Linked DNA regions of Homo sapiens: region 2 is linked to region 1. Evidence: promoter capture Hi-C in 16 types of primary human blood cells and fetal thymus (Javierre and others, 2016). All regions are on one chromosome and are shown on one strand. The core of a region is centred on a gene start or on the middle of the fragment in contact, and the rest is flanking DNA. Distances in the headings are between cores, read along the strand shown. Region 1 holds the start of CAMK1G (calcium/calmodulin dependent protein kinase IG). Region 2 overlaps UTP25 (UTP25 small subunit processome component).

Region 1 (3,311 bases), core at 535-3,034:
ACCTCCCCCAAACCCCATGTTTTAATACCACCACACTGGTGATTAGCTGTCAGCATATGAATTTGGATGGGGACATAAATATTCAGACTATGGCAGATAAAGAATGATCATAGCTAAAATTTATTAAGTGCTTACCATGTGCAAGCCACTGTTCTAAGCAGCTGCATTCTGTCTCGCTCCACCCTACTAGTGTGTGAAATAAGTTTAATAATTATGCCATTTTACAGATGGAAAAACTGAGGCATAGAAAGGTTAAGCCACTTTCCCAAGGCCACATATCTGTCAATGGAAGACCCAGGAATCCAACCTAGAAGTCTTCCCCAGAGCCACTTTTAACTATCCTACTGCACCATCTCACCCTATCCTATCACAGTTCTACCTGGGTGGGAGGTTGAAGGCCTGAACTGAGATCATAGAGGTGAATATTTGCTTGTATTTGCATAAAGAAATACCATAATAAAAGTGGTCACCTATAGAGGGCAATGTCAGGGTCAAGGGACAGATAACGAGTAGAAGGGGGTAACACATCTCAATGTATGCCTTTTAATATGGTCATTTTCTTGCCAATATGAATATGTTATTTATTCAAAAAACAAGATGACACAAAAGAAATGGTACAAGTTAAAAGCTAATTTCAAGGAACAAATGGAAGTGCATAAGAGCTGGATGGGTTTGGAAGACAAATTAAACAGGCAACACAAACAAAGCAAACCCTGGAGTTTCTCAGTTGAGTGTTTGGAAGATGGTAGCTCATTAGCCTAGTTGGGGAAAACAGGAGAGTGGGTTTGAGGGTGGCCATAACACATTCAGCCTTGTTTGTAGGTGACAGTGGGCATTTGGATGTTGAGGTTGAGCATGATAACCCAGGTGGGGTGTTGACTGAGGAGATTCTTATGAAGATGGTAATAGACTCTGTGAGTAGATGGTAACCTTAAGGAGAGAGTAGAGAAGGAGAAAACAAGAGAGCAGATGACAGAGTTTAAAGAAATCTGCACTAAAGGGACTGCCCCAGAGAAGCTAAGATGGAGACTGTGAAGCCTTGGTCAAGGGCCAGGTTGGAGAGATGAGTACAGGAAACAGAGGGAGCACAGAGTTTCCGGAGGAGGGGAATGATTTCCTGGGGTCTCATAGGTTAGGACTGAGACAGGTTTGGGGACCAGAATGCTGAGCTTCTGGAGGAAAAGAGACATATCAAAGATACTGAGTGAGACCGTCCAACTGAGGGGCCCCTTTTGGGACATCCAAGGCCCTTTCTCCCAGTTCTGTAAGAGATAACAAGCAAGGTGGACACTGTCTTCAGTCCCTACATGTCAGCCAGTGTAGATGTTCTGTTTTTCAGGGAGGTGTTTTTAGACAACATACACCAGCACCTGAGGGGTTAAAAAGGAAACTGAGGCAGACAATCCTAGAAAGCTTCTCTGATTTTTTTCTGTCATCACCCATTCAGGATAATGGGAACTTATAATTTGATGTTTTTGTTTTTCATTCTTCCGTTCTGTCTTTCCATCACACACATCAATGCAAACACAATTTCACATACACATGCACACAGACTCACACACACACACACCAGGCAAAAATGCACAAGCATTTTTCTGGATAAGACTCATTACTGCACGCTGGGAGGGAGGGTGAGCAGAGCCGAGGAAAGGAAAGAGAGATGCAAGCCACCCTAGCTACTTTTACTCCCCTTTAAGGCTGCGTGGTTACGGTCCTGGGAAAGAAAACTCCTGCATTCCTCCCCTTTAATTGGGTTTATTGTTAAAGCACTGGAGCAGCTAATCCTCACAGACCTGTAGGAGCTGGAGTGGGAGCTCAAGCAGGATTCTTCCCGAGTCCCTGGGTAAGACAACCCTGCTTCTTTTCTTGGCTTTAGAGGGTCTCCTTGCTTAATGGGAAGCGTGCAGCACCTAGTGAGTGGATTTGAAGAGCCACTTTGTAAGCAACTTGGGCATTTATTTCAGCCCCAGTTCCAGTCTTCCCTGACTCTTTTGGCATCAAGGGTGAGTTATAGCTGTCTTGGAAAATAAGTCTGAATGGGGGGTCCGGGTGGAGCTATCTGTCCGTCACTCCTGGGCTGGCTTTCATGGAAGCATTTTGCCCTTCTGGGCAGGGAAAAGGGAGAAAAATATCTTCATGTGCCCCTCCTGCAATGCCTGCATTCTAGGGACAAGGCTCTGTGCCTAGAGGGACCCCGTCCATCTGCTGGGGTGTTAGGACCTCCAACTCTCTTGCACCCCTCCCTCCTGCTCAACCTTCATCTCTTAACCTCTCTGACCCCATCCATCAAATAAAGTATGCCCTCTCTGCCGACCTCTTTGGGTTATTGGGAGGATTAGCAGAACCAATGGCAAAAAGATTTGTAAACAGCCTGTGGCTCTGCAAGCCTAAGGAAGACGAGTCAGCCTCAGTCCCTCCTGGAGGAGTCTGTGGACAGGCTTCAGGCTCCCTATCCTCAGCCGCGTTAAGATGCAGAACGCAGCCGAGCTATCGCTGTCAGTCACAAGACAGCTTCCTTCACCTTCCCCAGGGGCGCGTCTACCTCCCTTCTGTTTTTAAACTTCCCTAGTTTACCTCTCAAGTGAAGATCTTAAAAGGAGGTCTGGATTCACCACCACCACCACCCCCATCCACACCATGGCCCCTTCTCTCCACGTAACTTTGACGCACAAACATTAACCCTGAGGCTCCCGGAGATGGCTGCCAGGGCTCACGCTGGTCTGGCTGCAGTGCTTGTCTGGCCAGCCTCTTGCTCTGGAGTCAGATAAATTGATCATGAGGAAAGCCTCTGAGAAGGGTCAAGAGAGTCAAGCAGATTCCGCCTTAGGTAAGAAGATGATCTTTTCCAGATCATAAGCTGAAGACAGAACAAGGTCCCTGTCATTCCTGCTGACCCAAGCTTAACCAGAACCAAAGATGAGACCCACCTCTGAAACAGGCCGTAACACAGAGTGCTTAGTAATACCTGATATGGGGACCACACTTTACAGTTTATAATGTGTTTATAATTAATCATCTTTAGGACGATCCCATCAGATGGTGTGGCATGTATTATTTCCCCTTTAGTATAGATGAGACCATTGAAGCTTAGAAGTTAAAGGGTTTGCCTGGGGTTGCAAAGCTGGTGATGGTGGTGGCAACTGAACCCAGATCTATTGATAAATTCAGTGAACTTTCCACGATGCTGCAGATTGCTCTGGTGTGTGTGTGTGTGTGGATGCTTATTAAGAGCACTCTTCAGAAAGTACTCTTTGGGAAAGAAGCTTGAGGTTAGAGTGAGAAATGGTTTGAGCTGGAACCATGAGAGGCTT
Region 2 (3,311 bases), core at 259-2,758, 260 kb after region 1:
CCGTGAGGAATGTCCCAATGACAGGCTCTATCAGTCATGTCCTGGTGCAGCTCCCACATGTCTTCCAGAGGATGGAAGCTGAAAACCTAGCTTCAGTGATTGATGCCAGGTAACCCACTCCTCCCAGCAGGCCCCTGGGGACCACATAGAGAGATTTGACTTGGGCATACAAACCTAGAATTGGATTCCATTTTGCTTTTATTGATAACTACCAAATCAGTTGAGATAATTGAACTTAATTATGTCATTTGTCAGAGGAGGAAACTGAAGCACAGAGAGAAATAGTGACTTTGGCCTAGGTCTCATAACTAGTTAGTAGCAGGGTTATTACTATAAATCAGGACTCTTTCACTCTTGACTGTGGCATTTTAAAATTATACAGCTTTATGCTACAAAGTGTCTCATGTCAGCAAGTTAATTGTAAGCCCCTCAGGGAAAGAACTATTTTTCTAATTGTATAATTTCCCCCTTTTTCTTCATTGTGTTTAGTTAGGGGACCCCAAAGAAGCTTAGTGAGGCTTAGTATATGGTAGATGTTCAGTGATTATTTGTTGACTGTTGGACTGAGTGACTGAGTGACTGACTGACTGACTGAATAGTGTGGTGTGTACTTCCTAGAGTAATTCTCTGGGATATAATGGTATTACATCTGTTTTTTACAATGAATAGTGTTGACACTTATTTTTTTAGTGTGCTTATCAAGTTTTATCCTTACATAATCTCTTTGAGAGGAGGTAAATCATATTGGCCTCTGGGGAGGTAATCTTTTAACACGAGATTGTAATTTGCTCAGGGTCACACAGTTAAGAGACACCATAAGCTTAGCTCTAGACATTAATTTTGCCCTTTGCCATTCCAAATCAGGTTTAACTTTTTTGTGAACAAGATTTTGCCACAGTATCGTGATGCAGTCATGTCTCACACGCTCATCTATATCCCCTCCTACTTTGACTTCGTGCGTCTTCGAAATTACTTCAAGAAGGAGGAATTGAATTTTACCCACATCTGCGAGTACACGCAGAAGTCTGGTGTCTCCAGGGCCAGACACTTCTTCCTTCAAGGAGAGAAACAGTTTCTACTTTTCACAGAGCGCTTCCATTTCTACAAAAGGTAAAGTGGTGCCAGGTTTCAAGCCTCCTCTCTGAAGGGGAGGTGCAGGACAAATCATGGCCTGCTCTGAATGCATGGCAGGCTTCGTGGTGTTGAGATCATCCCTCACTCTCGCACTCTTACAAAGTAGCCAGAGAGTTTTTGGTTTGGACAGACTCTTCTTGGTTGGTTAGTTGGTTTTCTCCCAAAATGGGCATTGCTGAAGAAGGATGTAGAAACCAAAGCATACCCTGTCTATAGACCTGGCATGTAGCTGTGGTTATACACTGCAAGAAGGACATTACAGGACAACTCAAATGAATACAAGGAAGGGGAGGGACCTTCCCTGTATTCACTTGAGTTGTCCCTGTCTAGACTTTTTCCCTCTGTTTGCCCTCAGTGCACAGACAAAAGCATTGAGAACTGTGTTTTCTGGGGAGATGGAGGCTGAGTACAGTGTCAGTTTCCAGACAGTTGCGGTGTTCCTGAGGTATGCACAGATACTCCCTACCAAGGAGAACTAGGACCGTGGGCTCCTTGACATTTGCAGGAGGTAAAAGGGTAAGGGCTTCAAGTTGAATGTTGAAGGGTTTCAGCGTTTGCTTAGATTTCCTACCAGGTGACTTTGACAAAATAAGTTGATTGGTCTTCATGTTATTTTTTTAAAAACTCAGGCCAGGTGCAGTGGCTCACACCTGTAATCCCAGCACTTTGGGAGGCCAAGGCAGGCGAATCACCTGTGGTCAGGAGTTCAAGACCATCCCGGCTAACATGGTGAAACCCCGTTTCTACTAAAAATATAAAAAATTAGTTGAGCGTGGTGGTGTGTGCCTATAATCCCAGCTACTCGGGAGGCTGAGGCAGGAGAATAGCTTGAACCCGGGAGGCAGAGGTTGCAGTTAGCTGAGATCGTGCCATTGCACTCCAGCTTGGGCAACAAGAGCGAAACTCCATCTCAAAAAAAAAAAAAAAAAAAAAAACCAACTCTAATTAGAGGGTTAGTAATACTGAGCCTTCTATTACTGTTTGGGATAGTGGCGGCCCTTCTGGCCCTAGAGCTCATGTATTTTATTGTTTTGCTAAGTCTCTCTCTGTTGATAAATAGAAAAAGCTTTTTTATTTTTTAGATTTTTATTTTCAATTTTCATGGTTGCATAATATGTAAAAGGCTTTTTTTAACCCTTGCCTGTAGAGTTATGTAAATTACATTCTGTTACCTCATCCTGATTTCACAATAATGTCCAGTGGATTTAAGTTCTGACTTTACTGTTTTATTAACTCACAATGGGTGCATTTTCTCAGAGAATCCTAAACAGATACGCCAGAAATCTCCCAAGCTTTGGAGCACATTAGATGATGCACTTTGGCATTGCATTACCTTTTAGTTTATGCTAAAACGATTAGGATGGTGCTCCCCAGATAACGTCCTTGTTCCCAGGATGGGGAGGGAGGCGTCCCAGCAGCTTGCCTAGGCATAGCAAAGCTGGCATGGCATGACCTCTTAGAGAGTTGAGGATTGATTAAATTTGTGTTTCCCAGGCTCCATTCTTGGCTACCCAGAGAAGGCTGCTTGGCCAAAGAGTGTTAATGAATGCCTGCTTGTTGCCCTCATTATTTGCTCTGTTCCAGTAAGTTGTCGTTTCCATTCATGTTGGAAAGTATTTGGGGAAGTTGCACTCATCAGGTCTTAAAAGCTCTTAGCTTTCTATCATCTTGACAAATGAAAGCAAGCCCTTTAAGTGAAGTGGATGGATTGGAAAACTTCCCAGTGTGATTGTCTATGGCAACTGTGAATTAAGCTGGGATGGGAATTAAGCTCTTTAATATCTCAGCAGCTTTTCAAGGACAGGGCATGGAGCCCTTTGTAAGCAGGACAGTCTCCTGTATTACACTGTCTATTTACCAAGCCATGTTGCCCTCAAAGTCACGATAAGGACAAATCTCAGCATATGCCATTTGCTTTATGCCCTGGGCCAGGTTAATTGGTGTTTCTTTTGTAGAAGATGAATGAAAATAATGTGCTTTAGAGTTCTGCAACAGCTAATTATCTCAAGGTTTCCAGCTATAGAATTTTTTGCTCGAGAGATCACCAAGGTGATGATGGATGTTTTGGTGTGCAGTGCCTTTGTGATTTTTTTTTTTTTAATTTGACCTTAGAATAAGTACTTTTTTTTTCTTTTTCTTTTTCTTTTTTTTTTTTTAAGACAGTCTCACTTTGTTGC

The links. Contacts are between HindIII fragments. The CHiCAGO score rates a contact against its expected background, and 5 or more counts as called.
Region 2: a fragment that was not itself captured here is called in contact with the fragment with the promoter of CAMK1G in region 1 in 1 of 17 cell types (neutrophils); the score reaches 6.2 in neutrophils.

Annotation. Positions count from the first base shown.
Region 1 is chr1:209,581,930-209,585,240 of GRCh38, forward strand. CAMK1G (calcium/calmodulin dependent protein kinase IG) reads left to right here and starts at 1,785. Exons shown (of 13, transcript NM_020439.3): 1 at 1,785-1,843. The region is part of intron 1 of LOC107985256 (a long non-coding RNA gene); the gene reads right to left. The HindIII fragment of the contact is 1,486 bases long and covers 1,412-2,897 here.
Region 2 is chr1:209,842,587-209,845,897 of GRCh38, forward strand. UTP25 (UTP25 small subunit processome component) reads left to right here. Exons shown (of 12, transcript NM_014388.7): 10 at 1-109; 11 at 865-1,110. Among named protein-coding and RNA genes, the nearest start is that of UTP25, 16 kb to the left of the region's middle. The HindIII fragment of the contact is 1,380 bases long and covers 819-2,198 here.